Linked DNA regions of Homo sapiens: all the other regions are linked to region 1. The links are contacts of gene promoters, found by promoter capture Hi-C in blood cells and fetal thymus (Javierre and others, 2016). All regions are on one chromosome and are shown on one strand. Each heading gives the region's core, a stretch centred on a gene start or on the middle of the fragment in contact. The rest is flanking DNA. Distances are from core to core; before and after follow the strand shown.

Region 1 (3,597 bases), core at 659-3,158:
TGAGGCAAAAGAATCACTTGAGCCCAGGTGGTCAAAGCTGCAGTGAGTCGTGATTGTGCCATTGCACTCCAGTGTGGGCAACAGAGCGAGACCCTGTCTAAAAAAATGAATAAATAAACAATGATATTTATAAATTAAACATATATAATAGAAAATATTTCTTTAATCATTATTTTAATCAATATCCTTTGTTCACTGTCATAACTGAAAAAATAACATATCACTTCAATGAAAACAGGTTCAGGCCGGGCACAGTGGCTCACGCCTGTAATCCTAGCACTTTGGGACGCCGAGGCGGGCGGATTGCCTGAGCTCAGGAGTTCGAGACCAGCCTGGGCAACACGGTGAAACCCCATCTCTACTAAAATAGAAAAAAATTAGCTGGGCGTGGCGGCATGTGCCTGTAGTCCCAGCTACTCAGGAGTCTGAGGCAAAAGAATTGCTATAACCCGGGAGGTGGAGGTTGCAGTGAGCCGAGATCACACCACTGCACTCCAGCCTGGGCAACACAGCGAGACTCCGTCTCTAAAAACAAACAAAACACAAAACAAAACAAAAAAAGAAACAGGTTCATTGTATTAAAGCACCGAATACGAAGTTTCTAATAATGGAAAGGTCTACTTTGTAACTAGCATGGATTACCCCATGTAGAGAGATTCAAAAACTGTGATAGCTCTACACCCTGAACCCTGAAGTGTATCAGATGATAAAAGATAAAACACACTTGCAGATCAGTCCCTTGTTGCATCAGGAAAATCACTGCAATGGGAAATTACTCTGGTGTTTACTTTTCTTTGGTAACTCTTTCAAACCTAGCTTTAGCAACATTGTAATTCAAGAGTCATCCTTTGGTTACAAGTAGAGTTAGTTTCACACAATGGACCTTTGTTCACAAGCATTCTCAGTCAACCTAATCCTCCTGTAGTTATTGGTTAAGACTAGGGTGTGTAGCTGTTGGCCGTACAGGCCTAGACTTAACTTGCAATTGCATAGCGCTTCAGGTCTGCAAGCTCTTTCAAAACAGAGGTGAAGATACTGTCAAAGGTTAGACCATATGGCAAACTAAGTGTCAATGGTTTAGTAACGTTGCATTTGTGTGTGTGTTTATGGAGGTGGGGATGGGGCCAGCAGTAATTTAGAAACTTCCACAACCTATGCCCTATGCAGTTCTTTTCCATTCATTCAGTCAACAAAAATATTTTAGTTAAATATTTACTGAGCACCTATTGTGTACCAGGCACTATGCTAAGTGTTAGGGATACAGTTTTAATATATGTTACAGACACCAGCATTTTCACCATTATTATCCTATCTACAAACAATAAATCCCGCAGAAAGCCAAATACCTTCCCTGAAGTTTGTCTTGCAGATAATATTTAACTCAAGAATTGCCATCTTTAATTGAGGACTCCATCCTCCAATTATGGAAAGAGGATTCTCAGAACTATGCCCCCAATAGGATGCACTATAAGCCCTTGAACATCAAAAAACTGCTCTCAGTGGTTGCCTCTGAGGAGGGAGACTAGGAGACTGGGGCACGGGGGTGAGGGGTAGACTTGTCTCTGTGTCTATTTTTGTACTGTTTGACATTTTCCCCATGTGCATTTATTTTAACTTGCGCGGGCCGCGAGGCAAGGCTCACCTGCAGACCCTCGGGCCACCAGCAGGGAGGCACGCACTCCCCCTCGCAGCGCGCCCAGCCCGGGGTCAGCGGTGTGGCTGAGCTGGGGGGGAGCGCGGGGCGGTGGGGGGAGCCACCTCCCTGCGGGGCTCAGCGCTGGGGCCGGGAGCCCGGAGCCTCCGCGGGGAGGGACGCGCTAATGTTGCCGGGAAGCAGCTCCGGGTTGCAGGGCAGGAACGTGCCCTTCCCCCGCGGCAAACTTGCCGTCGCTGCGACGGAAGCAGGAACTTGCTAACCACAAAACCCGCCAGGCCGGTGCGGGAGCTGCGGAGCATCCGCTGCGGTCCTCGCCGAGACCCCCGCGCGGATTCGCCGGTCCTTCCCGCGGGCGCGACAGAGCTGTCCTCGCACCTGGATGGCAGCAGGGGCGCCGGGGTCCTCTCGACGCCAGGTAAAGGGGTCTCCCCAATACCCACCCCCGACCGGCCGCAGGCGACGTCGCTACCTGCGGAGAGAGTCGGTCCCCTCCTTTCCAGGGGCCGAGGCTCCTTCACCCACACCCGAGCATCCAAAGGACCAGCTGGGGCCAATAAGGGCTGACCAGGATCCTTGAGTCGCTGCAGTATTCCAAAGGGGACCTCTAGGCGGGCTCAAGGCACCTGCCATAAATGGCTCTGGCTCTGCGTTGACATCAGAAGGAGAGGCAGAAGAATAGCTCAGTAGGCAACATGCATTTCCTCAAAGGAAGAGAAAATGTTCCCTGTTTTCTTGTCGTTGACTCTGTATTCATTATTGAAACTGCTAATTGTCTAATTCTCTGTAGAGTGTGTGTGTGTATACAGTTATAAGCATCTTGGTAAATTATAGTGTGCTGTAAGACGATTTCCAATATTTGAACTAATTACGTGCGAGTAAGTTTTAGCGACTCTTGTATGCAGACGTTAAAACTCAGGGGCATCCTCTCTCACCCGCCTGTATCCTTTTACCCCGTCTTTCAACAAGATTCAACTCGACTTCAGGCCCTTAAAGCCTAAATAATAATGGATTAGAAAACGTCGCTAACCTAATATTGCTGAGCCTCTTTAATGATATAAAACTCTTAAACACTTCTCTCAATGCTGCATACTGAAAACAACTCCTGCCCCATCTCCTTACATAGTTCAGGTTTCTTTGCAAAAGCTTGAAAAGAGGCTACATTAGAATCCATTCAAAATAAAGTATTGGCCTGGTTTTCTCTTGATTCCCTAGAGGCTTGCAAAATATGGCAGCGTATTAAGTACCTTGGCCAGAATTATTAACCTGGGGAGTCCACGATAAGGTATCCATGGATAGAATTCAGGATGTCTGTGAACTTGAGTGGAAAAAATTATTATTTCACCGACTTCTGAAATGGAATGTAGGCAAAAGCCACAGTAGTATTAGCAGTAGCTATGATTTGCCCCCTGTAAATATTGCCGATATCTTTATATCACATGACTTGTTGCACGTTTCAAAATATTATCTATACTCAATACCACGTCAAAATTATGGCAGTTATTAGATGACCACTTGTTACTTAATAGGTTAATAAAGAAGCACATATTATGTCCCACAACTTTTTGTAAGTTTTAACTAAAATGAGGATAATAATGGGATCTGTAAAGATTAAATGACATGATATATATAAAGTGCTTAGCATAGAAACTGGCATTTTAGACGCAATAAATGTTACTATTTTACTGTATACAGAATTTTGACAAACAGCAAGAAAAGTATTAGACTTGTGTTTTATTACCATATACTGGTTTGTTTCTGGGTTTTTTTTTTTTTTTGGTTTTACCTTTTTTTAAAACTAAAAGTCCATAGTTCACATAATGTTCACTCTGTGTGTTTTACATTTCTATGGGTTTTGACAGATGTTCAATAACATGTATCCTCCATTACAGTGTTATACAGAATAGTCTCAATGCCCCAAATATCCCTTGCACTCCACCGAT
Region 2 (3,597 bases), core at 309-2,808, 860 kb before region 1:
GCCCAAGAAAAGGAATTATCCTTCTGGAAGAGAAAACAAGTGCAGTGTCCTGTCTACACACACACAAATGCACACACTGGAAAGGTGGGGCCGGGAACATGCATCACCTACGCCAATCCCTGCTCTTCATTCAATAAACAACTGTGTGCCTAGCCTTATATTAGGGGCTGGTAATTCACAGATACGCAGCGCTTTGGCGCTCATTAATACACTTTGAAGAAGCTTATCAGATTTATCTGGATAGATATAGGAGTTGACATATAGAATGGCTAAATTACAAAACAAGGAGGTCACGTGGGCGGGGGTTGTCTTATCACAGTTATTCTTAATTAGCCTTGCTTATGATCACACCCACTAATGTTTGCAAAGCTCTTCTATCTGAACTTTAAAACTCACTTATACTTTAACTGTGATAGGGACCTAAACAGATTCTGAAACCATGGTTTGCCTGCCTAGTGATTGGTGGCCTTGGTTTTTAGGTCCAAGGAGCTGGCTTTTTTCTGAGAAAAGCACAAGTAAAAGCAAATTGGGCGCTGTAAGCCACCACTAGAGGTCAGAGTAGCCCAGGGTTCAGAGAGAAAAGACACTACCTCCATTTTTTTTTTCTCGTTTTGTCTGAGTTAGTTAATTCAGTGGCACTGGGTTAATCTTGCAAAACTCCACTTTCACATGCTACTCTTTGCTCAAAATTTGAATTTGTCAGTCTGGCATCCTCTTCTTCCCATCTATCCTTCTAATCAAGCTTCTCAGAAGGAGGGGAAGTTCGGCTCCAGCCACATAGGTGTGTGTCCTCCTTATCCTCTGACCAAAGCTTGTCCTTCCTACATATGCTCCTTTGCTAGCACTCCCACCTGAATGCATCCCTATGATCCTTCCACCTTCCCTCTTTCACTAAGAGAAACCTCAGCCATCTACCACTCCTCCAGGTTCACCTCAAGCTCCACTCACCCCTGCTGCTGGGAAGGCTCTTCTAGAGACCGAAGAAGCTGCACTAGATCCTCCAGCCCTTAACCACCTACAGCTCTGGCAGGATTACTCCTGTGGACATTCACTTTTATCCTCCTGTTATTTAATTGTTTGAAGGGCAAGCGTGTGTTTATTTTGTTTTCCCACAACTGAGCTGTAAGTTCATGAAGGGCAAGGGCTGTGGCTTAAACTTCTTTTGTGCACTTGATGTAAATATTCGAATGATTTCTCAATGAATGAATGAACAAAAGAACATTACTCACATTGGCAATGGTGCTAACAAATAGCATAATAACAGTAGCGATGTGGACCACAAAGATACCAGCCAGCAATACCAACATGTTGGCTCTTTTTTTTTTGGTAACTTGTGAGCAAAGAGAGTTCTGAAAAGAAAAAGAAAGGGACAAAAACGGTTACTGTCAGATTCAATAAGACGACTCAGCTTTCCCACACGTGTGGGCTATCTGCTAACATGAGGAAGAGCTGCACTAAAAACCATCACAATCTAATCATAAATTCCTGAAAACACCCCTGTAACCTAGTTCTGATTTGCCTAAGTGCCTATTCATCCAGTTATACATACCTACATGGAAACAGAATTTGGTTTCTTCTTGGGTATTTACATATTCATTTCTCTAATACATTCTATTTCAAAAAAGGAACAAGAACATTTTATGATAACTGTTCGTATTTTATTTTGTTTGTGTTTTAGAGGTTAAAAATAGGACTTTGATTTTCAAAGAAGTAGGCCTTTATAATTTCCAGGTCTCTGAACAATGTCATATAAATGTCCATTTTCCACTAGGAAAATGTCCATGCTTTCATCAAATTGCTCACCCAGCACTTTTAATAGAAGTAAATGCCTTCTGAAGAATAGCAGCTATTACTCAATGCCCATATACTGAATAGGCTACTAATATGATCCTGGGCGAGATATAAAATGTGAGAGGCACAATTCTATTATTATAATGCTGTTTGGTTTTCAATAATTATAACAACCTAATTACAGTTTAATGGTCTGGTCACCCTGTGACTGAGCATTTCAGACTAGTATTACTACACCTGAGCCTTTGGGCTCTGTGTGCCTCATGGCAGGAAGCCTGCCATTGGTCTGGGCAGAGAGTCATATTTTCCACAGCTCAATGTGATGGTTCTGGGGGCTTTAAAAGTAATGCAACTTGAGATAGCACCAAATGTGCCTTCTCCTTGTACATGACATTTACACAAATTCCAATCCTTCAGGACTCAATACAGAAGACAGGCAAATGCATAAATCACAGGGTGGGAGGATTGGGAACTAATATCGATTAAGAATGTGCATGGATAAACAAAAGCTTTCAGCCATAATCACAGCAGAGAAGGGAGCCCATTGATCATAAAGCCTAGGAAATAAAGGAAGTGTGAAGGATACACATGGGGGAGGCTATTCTGATTTATGTCAGCTACAGAAGGAGAGCTTTGTCATGCCTAAGACTGTCACAAAGCAGTGCAGGCTCAGAGGGACATCAAAAGGAAAGGGCTTGAGGTTATTCACACCCTAGACAGAATGGATGTGTGGATGCCCCAACCAAGGGAGGAGATGGCCAGGCGCATCCTGCAATTGTTCCACTGCCCTCTCTCACTCCACCTAATTTAATTGATGCTTTGAATGTGCTTGAGGCACTTTCATGCCACATCAGGTATTTATTAGAGAGCACTGATACTATAATTCCAACACTTCACATGCCTTTTATCTCCTCTCACTGTCTTTATCAGGCAACCAAAAATCTAGAGTGATCTAATATACATCAGGGTGCCTTGCTCTCTGCAAGCAAGGAATGAGAGGCAGACAATGGCTTCCACCATTCTCCCTGACCGTCTCCAACAGCCCCTTCCCAATCTGGCCACTTCCTTCCAACCCAGGCTGTTTTTTAGGAATGTGTCCAACTTAACTGTGAATGCAAAAATTATGACGTTTATCCTGCCTCTTCAGGGGAGAGGTTGGAGCTTTCATGTCTGCTATTAGTAATCCCCCCACACATTCAAATTCATTTTTGCTTTTCTCAGGTTCTAGCACACCTCCCCAATTTTCTGCTTGACTTAAATGCACAGTAAAAAGAGATTTTTGAATCAGACAGAGGATGAATTAGAATCATATCCAGTTATTTGACCGCTCATCTGTTTCCTCATTTAGAAAGTGGAAGTCGCAATGTCAATTGCAAAGGGAAATGTGAGGATGAATTCAGATTGTTTATGTAAAACACCTAGTGTCTGACACATGGCAGCTACTAATAATGGGGTTGCTTTAGCTGCGGTTATTATTATTACTATTATTCATAAGTGAAGCCGGGTAGCTGTTGCCAACCCAACCCAGTTACTCAATCGCTAGGCTGCCCCATGTTAAGTGCAAGTAATAAGATATCTGCTGTCTAGTTCACGAGGCAGGGTGTATACAATCCTTTCGGTCCTCTTAGAAATTGTCATTTGTCTAACCCTTGCCCCTTAAGGGGGGAGACCTCTAAGAGCACACCCTCAGGAAAGACCAGGAGAAAGTTCACTTTCTCAGCCCAACTTCCTCATACCTCCCAAGATTCACACCTCACCAGATCCTGATCTCCTTGCCCCCTATGGGGAAAGGAACAGGCTGATTGC
Region 3 (3,597 bases), core at 565-3,064, 810 kb after region 1:
CTTTTAAAAATAGAAGTTTCTGAGTGTGGTGGTTAATGCCTGTAATCTGGGTACTTTAGGAAGCTGAGACAGGCAGATTGCTCGAGCCCAGGAGTTCAAGACCAGCCTCAACAACATAGTGAGACCCCATCTCTACAAAAAATACACAAATTAGCTGGGCATGGTAGTGCACACCTGCAATCCCAGCTACTCAGGAGGCTAAGGTGGGAGGATCACATGATCCTGGGAGGTTGAGGCCACAGTGAGCTGAGATTGTGCCACTACACTCCAACCTCAGTGAGAGAGTGAGAGCTTATCTGAAAGAAAGAAAGAAAGAAAGAAAGAAAGAAAGAAAGAAAGAAAGAAAGAAAGAAAGAAAGAAAAGAAGGAAGGGAGGGAGGGAGAGAGGGAGGGAAGGGGCTAAAAACAGTTAAGTATTATAAAGCGAGCATCAGTCCAGAAATCCAGCAATAGTCCCTCCTGGAATCCACTGACTTTTCTCAACAGTTTTTGGCCCTTCTCTTTTAGGGTTGCCAGATAAAAATACAGGATGCCCAGTTAATGTGACTTGCAGAAAATAATAATAATTTATTATTATATAATACATAATTTTTTAGCATAAACATGTCCTTTGCCATGCTTAGTTTGGGACATACTTACACTAAAAAATTATTTGTTCTTTATCTGAAATTCAGAATTAGGCATTTTATATTTTAAATTCAGAACTAGGCATTTTATATTTTTATTTGCTAAATCTGGCTACCCTATTCTCTTCTTAATATTCTTCATCTCTCCCAGCTTTGCCCTCCTTCCCTGCCCCCTCTTCTAGGGGAGTCAGATCGAGTTGTAAGGAGAACATGCCCACTGTCTCGATGGCTGCAGCGTGCAATCCATACAGACGGTGAGGAAGAAATGGGTTTCCACCCATGCTGTAGACGAATGTTTGTGTCCTCCCCAAATTCCTTTGTCGAAGCTTAACAACCAATGTGTTTGGTATTTGGAGATGGGCCTTTGGTAGGTAATTAGGGTTACATGAAGTCATGGGGTGGGGCCCTCATGATGGATCTGGTAAGAAAAGAGAACACTGTCTCTCTCTTCCACCAGGTGAGGATGCAAAGAGAAAGTGGCTGCCTGCAAACCAGGAGGAGAGCCCTCACCAGGAACCAATCTAGCTGACACTTTGAACTTGGACTTCAAACCTCCAGTATTGTAAGAAATAAATATGTTTTCAAAGTCATTTAGTCTATATTATTTTGTTTTGAATAATACAACCTGAAAATACATTTTCCCCTCACCCTACCTGAGCAATATCTAAGTTGCTTAAGGCACCCAGGGCACATCAAAGGAGAAATGTCCCATGCACAAGGCACAGCCATGCCCAGGAGAAGCAGCCCGGCACAGAAGGGAGCACACAGGCTCGGGGCTCTGCCACTCATTCTTCCTGTGACCCTGGGCAAGACACTGAGGGGGGCTTCAGCTGATTTGTTTGTAGTGGGCTTAATAGTGCTTGCCTTGCCTCCTCTGGAAGGCTGCAGAGACCGGATGTTAAAGCGCTTTGTTATCTGTAGGGTTTATTTGAACGAGAAAGGAAATGTGCATATGCTCCAGGATGTCTGTGTATCCAAAGACACACGCACACACTCTCTCTCTCACACACACTCTCACACTCACTCACTCACACACACTCACACACACATTCAACACATGCACACACTCACACACTCACACACACTCACACATGCTCACACGCTCACACTCACACTCACACTCACACACTCATTCAACACTCACACATGCACACACACTCCCACACACACTCATACACATCACACACTCACACATGACACATGCAATCTCTCACATACACTCTCTCTCACACACACACTCTCACACACACACACTCACACACTCACGTGCGTGCACACACACACACTCCATGACATACCAAACCTGGCTGCATGTTCTCAAAAATGTGCTGCTAGGCACCATTCCCAGTTCTAGACCCAGCCCAGCCAGTTTACCCTTAACTTCATAAAAGTTCTCTACCTAATGTACTACCGACAGGCTCATCCCAGACCTAAATTTTAAAGATTTCCTAGGAGCTGGATTGTAGACTTTTATCCTCACCCCTCAAGCTGCAGTGGGAATCCTTGACCCCAGCCTAGACAAAGAACAGCTGCAGGTCATTCTCATGTGTGGACATGGAGGCCATGACTGCCTTTGCTGGCCAGCTGGGCTGAGTGGGCCTGGGGAATGAAGGCTGCAGGGTTGGCCCCGGGCAGTCTTGCCTAGGCTTGCCAGCATCCCCTGGCCTTCTTGATTTCCCAGGATCCATGAGTATGGACTTTAGGAATTCTGGTGAAGGGATGAAGAGCATGCAGCAGGGTGTCCTCAGCCCTGATCTACAGGAAGAACACTGGAAACAAGGCCGAGAACTTAGTTTGAGAAGTTCCCTACCCCACCCAACCTCTAGCTCTTGTGTACCAGTTCCTGGAACAGACTCCCCTCTCCTGAACACCACTTTCCTCTCCAGCATTACATTTCTCCAAAGTGCATTGCTTTTTGGGAAGGCTTTCAAGGATGCTCGGAGAAAGGAGGATGGAAATGTCCCACTCTCTAAACCATTAGACAGATGCAGACAGACAGAAGGAACAGCCAGCTTCTTTTGCTGTTTGTAACGTATTTGAAAGAAGCTTGGGTCCAGAACTCTGCCGAAAGAGCTGTATGCTGTGCAGGGAAAGACAAGCACTTTCCCTTGTGGGATCCTTGAGCTGAAGTCATCGCTGGTTCTAGAGCCAGTTTTACTGAACACCCATGAATGGCTGTGTTCTGAGTGAGTTGGTCACTCACATCACCCTGACCTGCCCCAAGTTAGATTTTACATGATCCTGCTTCTCCAGGAAGCTTCCGTGACAGCCCAGGGACCTCCCCATTCTCTGAAACACACAGCATTTGAAGCTCCACTAGACAGCTTAGCCCCCATGTTGTGCTATTTGGGGTTGTTCTCTGTGAGATAGTAGAGAGTAGTGGTTACCAGGAAGACCTTTGGTACTGGGCTATCTGGGCTGGAGTCCTTATTCTGCTTAATAGCTATGTGATCTTAGGCATGTGACTTGTGCCTCAGTTTCTACTTTATAAATTTATGGAAAATACTGCATCTGTCTCTGTGGAGAGAATTCAATGAGTTAATATATTTCAAGTGTCCTTGAAATGTATTGTGTCCATAGATGGATAAATGGATAAACAAATTGTGGTATGTACAAACAATGGAGTATTACGCAGCCAGAAAAAGGAATGCAGAACTGATGCATGGCACCATGTGGTTAAACCGCAAAAGCATTATGTGAAGTGAAAGAAGCCAGACACAGGTCACATATTATGTAATTCAATTTATATGAAATATCCAGAATAGGTAAATCTATGGAAACAGAAAGCAGATTGGTGGTTTCCAGGGGCCGAGTGGAGGGGAGAATGGGAAGTGGCTGCTTCATGGGTGCAAGGTTTCATTTTGGGTTGATGAAAATGTTTGGGAACTATGTAAAGGGAGTGGTTGCACAACACTGTGAATGTACAAAATGCCACTGATTGTTCACTTTAAAATGGTCAATTGTATGTGCA
Region 4 (3,597 bases), core at 282-2,781, 790 kb after region 1:
CCCAGCACTTTGGGAGGCCAAGGCGAGAGGATTGCTTGAGGCCAGCAGTTTGAGACCAGGCTGGGCAACATAGCTGGACTCTGTCTCTACGAAACATTTAAAAACCTAGCTGAGTGTATAGTGATGCACACCTGTAGTCACAGCTACTCAGGAGGCTGAGGTGGGAGGATCACTTGAGCCCAGGAGTTTGAGGTTACAGTGGGTAATGATTGAGCCACTGCATTCCAGCTTGGGTGACAAAGGAGGATACTCTCCCCCCACCAAAAAAAGAAAGAAAACCATAGAGGTAGATCTATAGGATATAAATAGACTATACAACGTAAAAGCTGTGTACAGACATTAAACAAAAACCACAGTATCAATATTAAAGGGTAGAAATAAATACATTTGGCCATAATTAAGCTAATCTATTTTAAAATCTTCTGTAAGACAGACGTATCTTTAATTAGAATCCTTTTCAATGATTTTCATCATTTCCAACTAGTAAAGTCCTTTTAAAGTCAAGAATATAGATTTTTAACAAGGATCTAATGCCTGCAAAATATTCTTAAATTCTCTTTTCCTTAAATTCTCAATCCCTTTTATACTTCTTATTTAGCACTTTTCATGATTATCAGTCAGTAGGAACCGGGTGTTTGTGTCTTCCCACAAAAGAATGAACAGATGGAGGAAAAGCACCAATTTTTTTTTTACTCATGTGGTACCAATTTATCTCCTTTCTTAATATATTTCTCATAAAAGGAGCATAGTAATTTTAATTGAACCAAAATAATCCCAACTCTTTGCAAGGAATCATTGTCAGAGAGGAAATTGATCTTCTATCTGCTTTATGTTCTAAAACCTTCTGGGCTTCTACAGATGCTCACTTCATCTCTTTTTAAATAAAGGGCAGACTATTTGAGATGTTTTTACAGTGAGAAATGAGAAAAGTTAAGCGCTACGAGTGAGAAACCAGGAGTCTAAGTTCTCTCTCTGACATTGACTATCTGTGTGACCCTGGATAAGGCATGTAACCTCTCTGGTCTTGTTTCTTCATCTGTTAAAACTATTTGAATTGGTTGACATTTACCATTCTTTCCAGGACTCTCTATGATATTCAATCAATTATCCATCTTCTCCAACTAGTCTTTGCTCTTCTTGCTTATCTCATGGAAACACGTTATTTCCACCTTCTCCCACACTCAACTACTATTTTCCTTAGGAGAGACCTTGAGTACTGTTAAATTTCCTCAGAGAAATGTTAAGCAAGTCACTCAAACTCTCTAGGCTGCAGTTTCCTCATCTGTAAAAGAACAGATCACAAGCTCACCAGCCACAGATCTCAGCATCAGATCCTTACAGAGGACTGGTGACCAAGTGAGCAAGGCTCATCACTCTAGAGAGAAGCTGATGCCAACCAGCATAGGTCAAGGACCATCATAAGACTAGAGGCTTCTCACCCCTTTGCCCAAGGCTACATTATGACTGGGAAATTTCTAAAATATTATTTAAATTATTAGAGCAAACTAAACTCTGAATCAGATTCCTGCTCTGCCACCTCCACTAATCAGGTGCCTAGAAAGGGAAGCAGAATAGGCAATGTTGGCAATGTTATGTTAAATTGCTATGTTTCCTCCAGAGTGGTAACTGTGATTCAAGACATGTGACTTTGTTTATGTATTATCTTTAGCAAGGTGACCCTCACCTGGAAGATTAACTTTGTGACTCTTAAACCAGAAGGTTGCTTATTGCCCCTTCCTGTTTAATGGGGTTCATGGAGGTCCATACCTGCCAGCCATGCCAGTCCTGCTCTCTCCTGTGCCTGAGTAGTGATTTAGGTATCATTCTTGCCCGTGCAGACTGTCCTGACACTTCTGCCACTGTAGGAAAGACAAAAACACAAAACTTCCCAACAATCATATTCCTAGATCTTTACCTAAGTAAACTGAAAGCTCACGTTCACACAAAAACCTGTATGCAAATGTTTATAGCAACTTTATTCATAATCTCCAAAATCTAGAAGCAACCAAAATGTCTTTCCACAGGTGAGTGGATAAAAAAATTGTGGTAATTTTTGTTTTGCTTTGTTTTGAGATAGGGTCTCACTTTCTTGCCCAGGCTGGAGGGTAGTGGCATGTTCATAGCTCACTGCAGCTTCAAACTCCTGGGCTCAAGCGATCCTTCCATCTCAGCCTTCAGAGTAGCTGGGACTACAGGTATGCACCACCATGCTTGGCTAATGTTTTTTTTAATTTTTTTTTTTTTTTTCATGGAGACGGGGTCTCCTATGTTGCCCAGGCTGGTCTCAAGCTCCTGGGCTCAAGCGATCCTCCCACCTTGGCCTCCCAAACAGTTGGAATTACAGGCATGAGCCACAATTCCTGGCCATGGTACATTCATATAATGGAGTACTATTCTGCTGTGAAAAAAAGAATAAACTCTTGATTCACACAATGATGTGGGTCAGTCTTACGTGAATTTTGCTAATTGAAGGAAGCCAGACTCCAAAGGGTGCACACATTGTATAAATCCATTCATATGACATTTTAGAAGCAGCTACACTATGGGGATGGAAAACAGATGCCAGGGGTTGGTGGCAGTAGGAAGAGGGTAGATTAACTGTACATTAACTGCAGAGATAATTCATGGGGGGAATTTTTAGGGTGACAGAACTGTTCTGGGCTGGGTGTGGTGGCACACACCTATAATCCCAGCACTTTGGGAGGCCGAGGTGGGAGGATCGCTTGAGCCAGGAGTTCAAGACCAGCCTGGGAAAAATAGCAAGATCCCATGTTTACAAAAAGTAAAAAAATTAGCTGGGCATGTGTGCACATACCTGTAGTCCCAGTTACTCAGGAGGTTGAGGTAAAAGTATTGCTTGAGCCCAGGAGTTTGAGACTGCAGTGAGCTATGATCGCACCACTGCATTCCGACCTGGGTGGCAGAGAAAGATTCTGTCTCCAAAAGGCAGAGGTGGGGAGGGGGTGGGGGGTAGGAACAATTCTGTATGATACTGAGTTGTGGATAAATGGCTCTGCATTTGTCAAAATCCATAGAACTGTACATCACAAAGAGGGAACGCTAATGTATACAATCAAAAAAATATCAACCAGGATGGTGGGGACTGCAGACTTTCATGAATGAATGTAACTGTACACATAACATCCCTGAAGGGGTTGGGAAAAGGTGCAAACCAAAATAATCTTGCAGGTGCTGCTTTGACTTATAATTGTAAGGCTAAAGGCCAAAGGAACTGGACATAAGCACTGTGTTCCAACTGGCAAGTCTCTTTCTCATCGGGTTGGGGTGGGGCGGTATTACCTATGCTGAAACAGCTTTACATGCACCGTTAAGTAATAATGGGCAAATAAGGAAATAAAAGTGGATAGTGGGGGTCAGGTTTTTCACTGTTGGAGAGAGAAGTTATAGATAAGCAAAGGCAGAAGGCTAGAAGGAACCCTGTGATACTGGATTAGAGTCAGAAATATGAGTATGAACTCATATTTAACCATATATATAAATCATAATAGATATGTGTATATATATGGGTTAATATATGTAGCTCCTATCTGTGCCCTCTGAGAGGGCTTAGTACAGGGTTACAGCTAGTATAGGGTT
Region 5 (3,597 bases), core at 375-2,874, 770 kb after region 1:
ACCTTTTTCTCTGCTATGGACTTTACAGAATTATTCTCAAGAGCTTCAGGTTAAAGATTTAATTGTTCTCTCTGTATCATCTTTGTATCTGTATTTCTAAAACCCTAACACTCCTTGAATGGTGGGGAAAGAAAAGATAAGTAAGAGGAATTAAGAAAAATCACATAGTTGAATATCAAAATATTAACCCACTATAGGAACAAAAATATTCATTGAACAATGAATTATGTGAGGTGATAAAGAAACTTTTATTAACAAGAATTTCATTGGTAGGAGGGACTTGACTAGATGAAAATCTTTTAATCACCTTGAAGTAAAAACTGAAATACTAGGGGCGTGTTACAACAAATTTGGTCTGCAAACAACTGCACCAAAGACAAAGGGAGGAATCTGTCCGGCAAAGGAGGATGGAGGTTAATGAGTAGAGGAGACTGAGGGAGAGAGAAAGCAAGAAAGATGGTGAGATGATGTGCACTGTGAAATGGAAATGTAGTCTATGACAAAGAAAAGTAAATTTCACTGTGAAAGAAAGGTAGGATTTGGAGTTTAGTAGGCAATCTAAGAAGGTAGGAACTGATATAGTTTGGATATTTGTCCCCACCCAAATCTCATATCAAATTGTAATCCCCAATGTTGGAGGTGGGACTGGTGGGAAGTGATAGGATTGTGGAGGTGGATTTCTCACGAATGGTGTAGCACCATCCCTCTTAGTACTGTCCTCACAATAGTGAGTGAGTGAGTTCTCATGAGATCAGATCATTTAAGTGTAAAACCTCCCATCTTACTCTCTCTTGCTCCTGCTCCTGCCATGTGAGACTCCTACTCCCTTTTGCCTTCCACTATGATTGGAAGCTTCCTGAGGCCTCCCCAGAACCAGAAGCTGCTATGCTTCCTGTACAGTCTGCAAACCCATGAGCCAATTAAACCTCTTTTCTTTATAAGTTGCCCTGTCTCAGGTATTTCTTTACAGTAATGTGGGAACAGACTAACACAGGGACATATAGGAGAAAATAGAACTAAGCAACATGGCATTAGTTTGGACATAATTACCTATCAGGCTATTACATTAGCTTGAATGATCCTCACAACAACACTAAGATTTAAGTACTATCATTATTATCCCCATTTTAAAATGTGGAAACAAAGACAAAGGGAAGTGAAGTAACTTAACCCAGTATCAGGGGAAACTCCTCCCTCATAGAGAATGGTGAAGAGTAACAAGAAGGCCAAGGAGATGACTAAGCCAGTAACCAGGTTGGCTTGCTGCCACTTTGGAGGTGTGAAAATAGACAAAGAGACTCAAGCAAGACAGCACAGCACACAGTGGGAACATCAGCATGGTAATTCTGGTTCTCCTGTCCCAAAGTCCCATGGGGTGGTAATGGGCAGCTACTCACACAGTGGGTTGTGCCACATGCGGGGAACCTAGGGTTAAAGGCTCAGCACCTCTTATAGCAAGCAGCAAAGGGGCTAGTCCCCTGCCCAAGGAATAAGCTGTAAGGTAATCATGATGTGGGTACCATGGCCAACTTAACTGTTACATGACTAGCTACAGAAACCTCTTTTAAGGCATCCTTAGAGATTGTCTGCCTTTTCTCATAAGGCAACTTCCATACAGACAGTAAACTGGAATACACTCTAAGGACCACCTTTCACTCTTTGCCTATATTTCATCTCATATTCTTCTACAACACATTGACAAAAAACATTAAAAATATAATAATTCCTAAACTGCATAGTTTGTGAGTCCCCTTTATATACATTATAACATTTAAGTTTTCTTTACAACAGTGGTTTTTATTTGGGGTTTGAGGGTAATTTTACCCCTCACTCCCTGGGGACATTTGGCAATGTCTGGAGACATTTTTGGTTGTCACACTAGAAGTTGGGGGAGTGGTACTGGCATCTAGTGGGCAGAGATCAGAGATGCTATGATGCACAGGGCAGCCCTACATAACAAAGAATTTTACAGCCCCAGATGTCAAGAGTGCTGATAATGAGATTGAGAAATCATGCTTCACAGTTTCCTCATATTATATAAGGAAAACTTAATGAAAACAGGCCCAGAATGGAGGGGAATCAACTAATGATGGAACAAAAGGTCTATCTAGCTATTGTAGTAGCAGTAGAGCATCACTAAGTATTTCAATACTTTGTCAATTATAAGAGAATGTAAGAATGAAGAGGATTTCATCTTTATGGCTGGAACAGTTGTTAGTTGATCTACTATTTGCATAGTTGAAGAGAACCAAGCACATAAAATCTTGTGAGTGGTATAGTTGATCAAAAGCAGACCTGCTCCCAGAAGTTATGACTCCAGACCATTGATGCTCACACCCAGGTAGAAAGGGTAGCATGTGAAGAAGACAGGGGCCTTATAGGTGGAGAGAAGCTTGCAGGTACATGATGTTTGCCACAGTTCACATTTGGCTGAGATAATGGGGATAAAAGTATGATTTTTCAAAGTGCTCTGTGGCCTTTTCCATCATTGCAAAGTAGTGGAGGCTTAGGGTTTTGTCCATAAGAGCAATTTAAAATTACTTCAAATTTCTGCAACTCTATAGTATTAACACATTTAAAGTAGATACAGAAATAAAAATGTGCATGACCCTTCATCAAGGATTCTTTTTATTATAATTTATAATTTCATCCAGATGGCCAATAATAGAATATAGGATTGCAATATAATTCATGAAAAGAGTGGTAAGGAAGAACTAATAGAGCAGCATAGTTTAATGTACAAAATTAATCAAATTCTCTAAATTGCTTGGTGCTGTGTTTTCAGTTTTAGTGTTGATATTTAGTATCTTTTTTTTTCTTGGCTAGAATGAGAACAAACTCTCTCACTGTTCTCACAAAGACATTCTGAAGTTTCTTGAAAACTATAGAATCTGACATTATGCTTGTGAAAGAGAGAGAAATCTCTAATTCAGGACCAAGTTACACAATGTGAAAAAGAGATTATGGCAAAAGAATTGGTGTCACCAGGTACCTCTGTGCATGTATAATTTTGATTAAAATAACAGATGGATCATATAGGCACAGAGATGGAAATTCTAAGAAAGAATTTAAAAAATGCCAGAGCTCAAAAACACTGTAACTGAAATGAAAAATGCCTTCAGTGGGCTCATCAGGAGACTGGACATGGCTGAAGAAAGAATCTTGGAACTTGAAGATATGTCAACAGAAACTTCCAAGACTGAAAAGCAAAAAGAAAAAAGCTTCAAAAAAACCCAGAATAGAATATCTAAGAACTGTGGGATAACTACAAAATGTGTAACATATCAGGATAAGAGAGAAAATAACAGAAGAAATATTTGAAGCAATAATGACTGAGAATTTTCCCAAACACTTGTCAGACACCAAACTGCAGACCCAGGAAGCTCAGAGAACATAAAGCTGGAAAAATGCCAAAAGAAAAAAAAAAAAGACACCTAGGCATATCATTTTCAAGCTTCAGAAAGATAAAGAAAAAATCCTGAAAGAAAACAGAGGAAAGAAACACCTTACCTATAGAGGAGCAAAGTTTAGAATTACAGCTGACTTCTCCATGGAAACCATGTAAATAAGAAGAGAGTGGAATCAAATACTAAACAC
Region 6 (3,597 bases), core at 1,098-3,597, 760 kb after region 1:
AACATCTTTGGGCCTTGATGTCTTCATTTGAAAACTGAGGAAGTAAGTCTAGATTATCTGTAGACTCATCTGTTTCTGCAATCAGTGTTTCCTAACTATGTAAAAGTTATAAGTTCCTTTTCAAATACGATAGAAACTATTGCCTAGAAAATTGCACATGCAGATATGGAGACATGTTTTGTATACAATTTTATGAGTGCTCTTGGATTTTTGTAAGCCATTTAGAGGTTCACAGTTTCAAAACCCTGCTTTAAATAACTTCCTGTTTGTCATACAATGGGCCAGATTCTCCAGCTTTCCTCTTCTGAACTTCCTAAGGAATTCCTACTTTTGCTTCCTTCCTGTTTCCTTTGCACTTCCTTAAAGATATCCTCCATAGTTCAAGGACTTGTAGAGCTGGAAGAAAACTTGAGAGAGCCAGGCCATTCATCTAATTTCTTTCCAGTCTGTTATCTTCCTTCACCCGTTAGCATCATTCATTTGTCCATTCAGCAACTCCACAGTGTTTCTACCTCAAACACTGATATGGACAATACCACTTTAAAATTTGCGCGGTGGTTCACCCCTGTAATCCCAGCACTTTGGGAGACCGAGGCGGGTGGATCACCTGAGGTCAGGAGTTTAAGACCAGCCTGGCCAACATGGTGAAACCCCGTCCCTACTAAAAATACAAAACTTGGCCGGACGTGATGGCCAGTGCCTGTAGTTCCAGCTACTCAGGAGGCTGAGGCAGGAGAATTGTTTGAACCAGGAAGGTGGAGGTTGCAGTGAGCCGAGATTGCACCATTGCACTCCAGCCTGGGCAACAGAGCGAGACTCCGTCTCAAAAAAAAAAAAATCTATTTCTCATATAAGAACACTTCATTCATTCATCTTACAACTATTCATTGAGCATCTCCTTGGGTCAGGCACTGAGCTCCATGCTGAGGCTATAATGGTGAGGAAGATAGACATTGTCCTTGCCTCCATAGGCTTCCATTCTCTTGGAGACAGAAACAAAAAAGAAGTTATCAAAGAAATTAATAAAATTACTTCAAGCTGTGATCAGTATTGTGAAAGAAACACACATGGAGTGGAAGAGAAGAATTACAAGTGGGGAAGTCCTCTTTTACAGAGTGGTCAGGAAGTTCTCTCTGAGAAGGCAACACTTAAACTGTGACTAAAAGATAAGAAAGTGTTTGCCATGCAAAAGAGGAAGAAAAAGCATCCACACAGAGGACTCATGCATTAAGGTCCTGTGGCAGGAAAGGATGGAGCGGAGTTTAGGAACTGAACGAACAAGTTCCTGAAGCTTTGTGAGTGAGAAAAAGAAGGTTCAAGATGGAGTTGGACAGATGGTAGGGGCCCGATCATGCAGGACATTGTAGGGCATGGTAAATGGTTCAGGCCTTATTCTGCAAGGCAGCATATCAGAGAAATTTTAAATGTGTGGGCTTTGAGGCCCGGCTGCCAGAGTTTTTACCCCAGCTTGATTCTTCACTGCCTATATGCGTCAGCCACTTGTTGTGCACTACTTCAGGTTCTCTGGCCTCATGAGTCCTGAGGGTCTTTAGCTACTTGCTCTGCTCCAGTGGTCAGTGTGACAGGCAGCTCTACCTGGGTTCCAGTGGGCTTTGTGTGGACCAACCTGGTAATCCCTTGCCTTGTGTCCTGTCACACTTGTCATCTTTTGCCTAGGTGCATTCCTGTTGGGGCAAAGATCTGCCTTTGGGCACAAGTGCAAGGGAGCTAATGCCCCACGGGGTAAACCTCTGACCAAAGAGTGAGAGATGCCGATGAATAAATTCTTCTCCTCTACCTAGTTGGAGTGACCAGGATAGCAATGGTGTTGCAAGACCAAGCAATCAGTTGTGCTTCATGCCATGCTGTGGCCTTTTCTTGTAAACGGTGGTCCTTCTTTGCCTGACTCACTCCTCTTTTCTGAGATTGCAATCTCCAAGAGGGGAGCAGCACATATGTATTTAGTGGGGTTCTGTTTTCTGGGAAATCCAAGTTAAGGTAGACCTCCTGAATGAATCAGCTCCCAGTGCCTCAGTTTCCTCATTTGATAGATATAAATTATGATAACAGCACCTGCTTCATAGAATTAAATATTACTTACATCAATCTGTGTAATGCTGTTACTATAGTGCCTGACACACAGTATGTGCCACAAGTGTGCTGTTATCATTATAATTTATTCTAAGTGAAATGGGGAATCATTGAACTTTAAAAAGAATATCCCAGATATCTGAAAATGTTTGATAGACATTTTAATATATTCTTTCTTATACCTATATGGGAAATAAATTAGAAGAAGACAAGAGCAGAAGTGGAGGGACATTTAGGAAGCAGTTGCAATAGTAAAGAGAAGAGATCTTAGTAACCTAGAACAGATTATTAGCAGTGGAAACCAATAGAAGTGGGCAGATCCAAGAAATATTTGGAGGTGGAACTCACAGAAGTTAATAGATTGGACGGAGAGTAAGTCAAATGGAAGGCCACCTAAAAATATATTTTACTCTTCCTGCCATGAGAATGATATATTCTTTTTCTTTTTCTTTTCTTTTTTAGACGGATTCTCACCCTGTTCCCCAGGCTGGAGTGCAATGGCATGATCTCAGCTCACTGCAACCTCCGCCTCCTGGGTTCTAGTGAGTCTCCTGCCTCCTGAGTAGCTGAGAATACAGGCACCCGCCACCATGTCTGGCTACTTTTTGTATTTTTAGTAGAGATGGGGTTTCACCATGTTGGTCAGGCTGGACTCGAGCTCCTGACCTCAGGTGATCCACCTGCCTTGGCCTCCCAAAGTGCTGGGATTACAGGCATGAGTCTCCACGCCCTGCCTGAGGATGATATATTCTAAATCCAGCCTTTTTTTCTTAAGATTTCTCCCCATCTATATGCCATAGACTGATATTTTCTTTTTACCTTTGTTGTCTTTGTTGAAATTCTTACCTTGCTCTTCACTCACACATCTCAAGACTACAACCAACAGGATATCGTCTACCACCTGTTTTTTACCTCCTGCCTGCTCCTGTGGCCTCAGTGATGGAATCTTAAAACAACAAGATACAAGTCTTCATCTTGTGCTCCCTCAACTTCCTGCCTTCTCCTCCCTACTCCTCAACTCAACCATCTGCTCTAAGCCGTTCCAGCAAACTCACTAGGTGGGCCCATCATTCACCCTCATATTTTGCATCTATGTTCTCACCTACTCTTGGAATGCCATTTTCATTCCAATTGGCTAAATTCTTTCTCCTTCTTTGCTCATTAAATCCTGACTCCCTCACTTACCACAATAGAAGGAAGTGGAAAAATGATCCTTGACTTCTCAAGCTAATCCCACTCAAGCCAATTCCTGCTCACCTTTGTTTCAGTCAATGCCAATTGACCCTTCCAGCTGTTCAGGCTGAAAAGCTTGGAATCTATCTATATACCTCCCTCTCTCTTACACCTCACATCCAATTTGTCAGCAAATCCTGTTGGTTTTACCTGCAAACAACATACCAAATCCAACCACTTCCCATGAACACCACTCCCATCCTGGTCCAGGTCCCCACCTCTACCCTGGATTATTTCTATGGCTTTTCACTGGGCTTTCTGCTCTGTGCTTGC
Region 7 (3,597 bases), core at 438-2,937, 690 kb after region 1:
TGAGCCACATCAAAAAAAAGGATGATCAGTTAATACATTCATTTATCTTGGGCTGTCTCTGCTGTTTCTGGCACATCCAGCCTGAAGGTTCTCAAGCTTCTTCTCCAGCTATCTATATTCCCCTCTAGAAAGTAGGCAACTGAGAAGGAGAGCATTTGTGAGTGCCCTGTGTGTACATGTCAGTACTTATGCCTCACAGGAGCCCCTTAGGTATGGGAGGTGGCAGTATGTTCGCCCTGACATGGAGTCCTGATATGTTTCAAAACACAGGTCTCTACCTTTCTTCTTTCCTCAACCCTCACAGAGTATTTGCTCAGGATGTCAACTGTGTGAGGTCTTTATCTTACATATCAAAGAGCCTGGCACCAATTAAGTCCGTAACAGAAGCTTAATAAATACCTACTGATTAAGAAATTCTATTCAATTAATAGCCATTGGCTGTCCTCTGTGCCAGACCTTGAGCTGGACACTGGAAATATAAAAATGAACCCATCAGACTCCTGTCCTCAGCAGGCTTTCAGTCTAGTGTGGATGATAATTCAAGGATAACTGGATTGTTGCCAATAACAGAAGCAAGTTCAATAAGCTGGGGGAACACTGTGCCCAGCAGCAACAGGGAGGCTTGAGAAATGGACTTCCAATGACAAATTGGCTGCCAGGCAGAAAGAAGATCGAGGGAAGATTCCAGGCATAAATGTTTGTTACATGGGATGGGCATAGTGGCTCATGCCTATAATCCCAGCACTTTGGGAGGCCGAGTTGGGCGGATCACTTGAGCCCAGGAGTTTGAGACCAGCCTGGTGAAACCCTGTCTCTACTAAAAATACAAAAATTAGCCTAGTGTGGTGGTACGTGCCTGTGGTGTCAGCTACTCGGGAGGCTGAGATGGGAGAATCACCTGAGCCCAGAAGGCAGTGGTTGCAGTGAGCTGAGATTACTCTAGCCTTGGCCACAGAGCGAGACCATGTCCTCCTGAGAAAAAAGTTCATTATGTGGTTGGAACATAATGTGGAGATGATACTAGAAAGGTAGGCAGTAAAGGGCCTTGCAGGTGACAAGAAGCTGTGGTTCATGCTACACTGTGGTACTGTGGTGTGAGACAGAGAGTAACAAGATCACATTTTTATCTGCAAAGAATCATTCCAAGTTGTGTTGGGGGTGGGGACAAAATGGAGGAAGGAAGATCAGAGAGGAGACAACTGAAAGGTCTGGGGCCAGAAGGAAGGCAGTGACAGCCGGTATGGAGGAGAAAGACGAGTATGCACCAGACTGCCTGGCAGGCTGGAAAAGATGGCACACCTGCCCTCCCAAAGCTTCCATTCCAGTAGCAGTAAGAAGCAACAAGGGGAAGAGTCTGTTAGTGCATCGTGGACCAAACAAGGGTCACCGTTCGCTAACCTTAGTCCTGGATGGCTTTTGTGGCAGTGCTGGCTTTAAGTTGGCCTTTGAAGAATGACAGAGAGGTGACTTGACAGAACCATTCATTTACTACCCTTCTTTTGGCGGTTCTCCCCTGTGGTTCGTATCCTGGTTTTATTTAGCCCTATCTTCATAAGACTCTTAGATTCTTGTAACAGAAACCTCCACCAAGAAAAGCTGCCATCTCCTCTCATACTAATCCCACTCATCAACATCTCTTGGCAGTTTCTGACTTATGTGGGACAAAAATAAATAAATAAAAACAATAACAATAAGACTCTGCCAGGCTAGCAAACTGATCCAGTCAGAGGATTATAAGAGACACCTGTTTTTCAATACAGCAGCTGCTAACACAGCAGAAGCATGGCATCGTAGTAACAAGAAAGAGTTCTCTTCCATTAAAAACCCAATAGTAGCAGAAACTGGCACGGACTGATGTTCAACTATGTCACCTGAATGTGAAAAGAAGTTCAAATATGACCAGACACATAACAGGAACCCTGCTTTGCCAACGTGGGAACCCAAACGCTAGTTTGCTGATGGGGAGGTGATTTACCTATTCATCCAAGTACACTAAGGCACAAATCCTTAAAGCAGCTATTAAATACTTAAGAGTGTTATCAAAAACACACTGAAGCTTTTTGAAGTTTGGTTGATTCATACCCTGTGGCTGACCAAACACCTCTTCACTTAAGCCAGCTTAAAGAAAACTATTGCCCAGTTTGGAATGTAGACACTAACATAGAAGCACGTAAACAACACTTTATTTTTTCAGTTCACCACTGAAGACAGACAAGACACACACACACACACATACACACACACACACAACCTACCAACATATAAACACCACAGGCAAACTATCTCAAATGTACAATATGTACACATCACCTTTTCAGACCAGACCAGGGAGATGCTCTTAGAAACAGCTTGCTAACAGCCCCTCACATTGCTGTTTAACAATCCGTTCATAGCCCATCACAAAGCCAGGCCTCCAAGGAGATATATTTTACATCTATATGTTAGGTTTCTTCGCCACAACAAGGCTGGATTTTGTGTAATCTTTTCCTCTATATGCTAGAAAACAGATTATGCCATAATTTCTGCAATTTATCATCCCATGAGCATGCGATACATGTGGCATATATGCAAACAGAGTCACAAGCACAAACCCTGGAATAAATGCAGGACGGTGCCCAAGAAAGCACAAGCCACTCCAGATAGGCCTGACTAAAGCTAAAAATAGCCCATAAAGGCATTGTGTCAGCTGCCCTCTCGCTGTCCTCCCTAGAGCGTGCTAATTCTAACCTCCAGTGTTGGTGCTTAAGCTTGAGCCTTTGGTAGCTGTACCTAGGAACCGTTCCCTAATCCAGGAAGCTACTTTCTAGGTGTTGGAATATGCAGAAATCGTTCAACGCACTGCAATTATTAGTCCATTCATGCACACAAATGCAGATAGAGACTGAACCTGAAATTGTGCATTTTCTCCTAAAGCCTGCCATTTGTGCCCTGGGGCACTAGGACCAGCGGAGAGATGTCCCTTTTGGCAAATGGTATAACAGAAACCTCTCAAGTGCTAAGCATGCTCAACTGCCCAAGAACCACCCAGCCAACAGGACTAACTCTTGCCTTACCCTGGCTGGTGTGCAGCAAGAAGTTTCTCAAAGAAGCACAATCTTGTCCACACAGACCCCACTTGAGGTCCCAAAAGATTAAAGGGAGTGCACTCTCATAATATGAGACCCTAGGAAGAATCACAGACACCAATTTGGGGACCAGGGCTGCGAAGAAAATTCTTTCCAATTATCTATTTGGCATTTAGTCTGGCAGAAATATGTGCATAAAGGAAGAGTAACTGGGTTTTCCCAAACTCAGCCCTGCAAGTCATCCAAAAGTGCACCCAAATAAGAAATAGGCTGGGGGTTGTGAACTCACATTCACCTATAACCTACATATAAGCCAACCAAGAGGCAGAAGACTCTATTCTCATCCACCCACACCTCCTCCATGGTGAACCTTCAAAGACCACAGCTGAAATGAAAATGTACACAGACCAACTTTCCCTTAAATCAGACTGTTCAACATGATGGCTAACAACGAACGCACACACAGGCATTCCCCCTAGTTCGGAGAAGCTCCATTTGGCCATTTTACCAAGTTTTTCAAGACAGAGAAATT

The links. The method cuts DNA at HindIII sites, captures the fragments that hold promoters and counts their contacts. A CHiCAGO score of 5 or more calls a contact.
Region 2: a contact is called between a fragment that was not itself captured here and the fragment with the promoter of MANSC1 in region 1, in 1 of 17 cell types (total B cells). The highest score is 5.5, in total B cells.
Region 3: a contact is called between a fragment that was not itself captured here and the fragment with the promoter of MANSC1 in region 1, in 5 of 17 cell types (non-activated CD4 T cells, fetal thymus, activated CD4 T cells and 2 more). The highest score is 8.5, in non-activated CD4 T cells.
Region 4: a fragment that was not itself captured here is called in contact with the fragment with the promoter of MANSC1 in region 1 in 8 of 17 cell types (activated CD4 T cells, M1 macrophages, M2 macrophages and 5 more); the score reaches 8.4 in activated CD4 T cells.
Region 5: a contact is called between a fragment that was not itself captured here and the fragment with the promoter of MANSC1 in region 1, in 10 of 17 cell types (activated CD4 T cells, total CD4 T cells, M2 macrophages and 7 more). The highest score is 11.1, in activated CD4 T cells.
Region 6: a fragment that was not itself captured here is called in contact with the fragment with the promoter of MANSC1 in region 1 in 2 of 17 cell types (activated CD4 T cells and M1 macrophages); the score reaches 5.3 in activated CD4 T cells.
Region 7: a fragment that was not itself captured here is called in contact with the fragment with the promoter of MANSC1 in region 1 in 1 of 17 cell types (neutrophils); the score reaches 5.3 in neutrophils.

What each region holds. Positions count from the first base shown.
Region 1 is chr12:12,348,553-12,352,149 of GRCh38, reverse strand. It overlaps MANSC1 (MANSC domain containing 1), which reads left to right and starts at 1,908. Exons shown (of 4, transcript NM_018050.4): 1 at 1,908-2,072. RefSeq lists a silencer at 1,598-1,907. The HindIII fragment of the contact is 5,175 bases long and covers 1-2,802 here.
Region 2 is chr12:13,209,221-13,212,817 of GRCh38, reverse strand. EMP1 (epithelial membrane protein 1) reads right to left here. Exons shown (of 5, transcript NM_001423.3): 2 at 1,230-1,349. The coding sequence starts at 1,307. Among named protein-coding and RNA genes, the nearest start is that of EMP1, 14 kb to the right of the region's middle. The HindIII fragment of the contact is 1,489 bases long and covers 814-2,302 here.
Region 3 is chr12:11,539,013-11,542,609 of GRCh38, reverse strand. LOC124902877 (a long non-coding RNA gene) reads left to right here. Exons shown (of 3, transcript XR_007063210.1): 3 at 1,084-1,216. Among named protein-coding and RNA genes, the nearest start is that of LINC01252, 7.2 kb to the left of the region's middle. The HindIII fragment of the contact is 1,720 bases long and covers 955-2,674 here.
Region 4 is chr12:11,557,553-11,561,149 of GRCh38, reverse strand. LINC01252 (long intergenic non-protein coding RNA 1252) reads right to left here. Exons shown (of 8, transcript NR_033890.1): 7 at 1,768-1,859. Among named protein-coding and RNA genes, the nearest start is that of LINC01252, 11 kb to the right of the region's middle. The HindIII fragment of the contact is 5,915 bases long and covers 1-3,597 here.
Region 5 is chr12:11,574,003-11,577,599 of GRCh38, reverse strand. No RefSeq gene overlaps it. Among named protein-coding and RNA genes, the nearest start is that of LINC01252, 28 kb to the right of the region's middle. The HindIII fragment of the contact is 1,540 bases long and covers 855-2,394 here.
Region 6 is chr12:11,592,864-11,596,460 of GRCh38, reverse strand. No RefSeq gene overlaps it. Among named protein-coding and RNA genes, the nearest start is that of LINC01252, 47 kb to the right of the region's middle. The HindIII fragment of the contact is 2,108 bases long and covers 1,294-3,401 here.
Region 7 is chr12:11,662,410-11,666,006 of GRCh38, reverse strand. All of the region lies in intron 1 of ETV6 (ETS variant transcription factor 6), which reads right to left. Among named protein-coding and RNA genes, the nearest start is that of ETV6, 15 kb to the right of the region's middle. The HindIII fragment of the contact is 743 bases long and covers 1,316-2,058 here.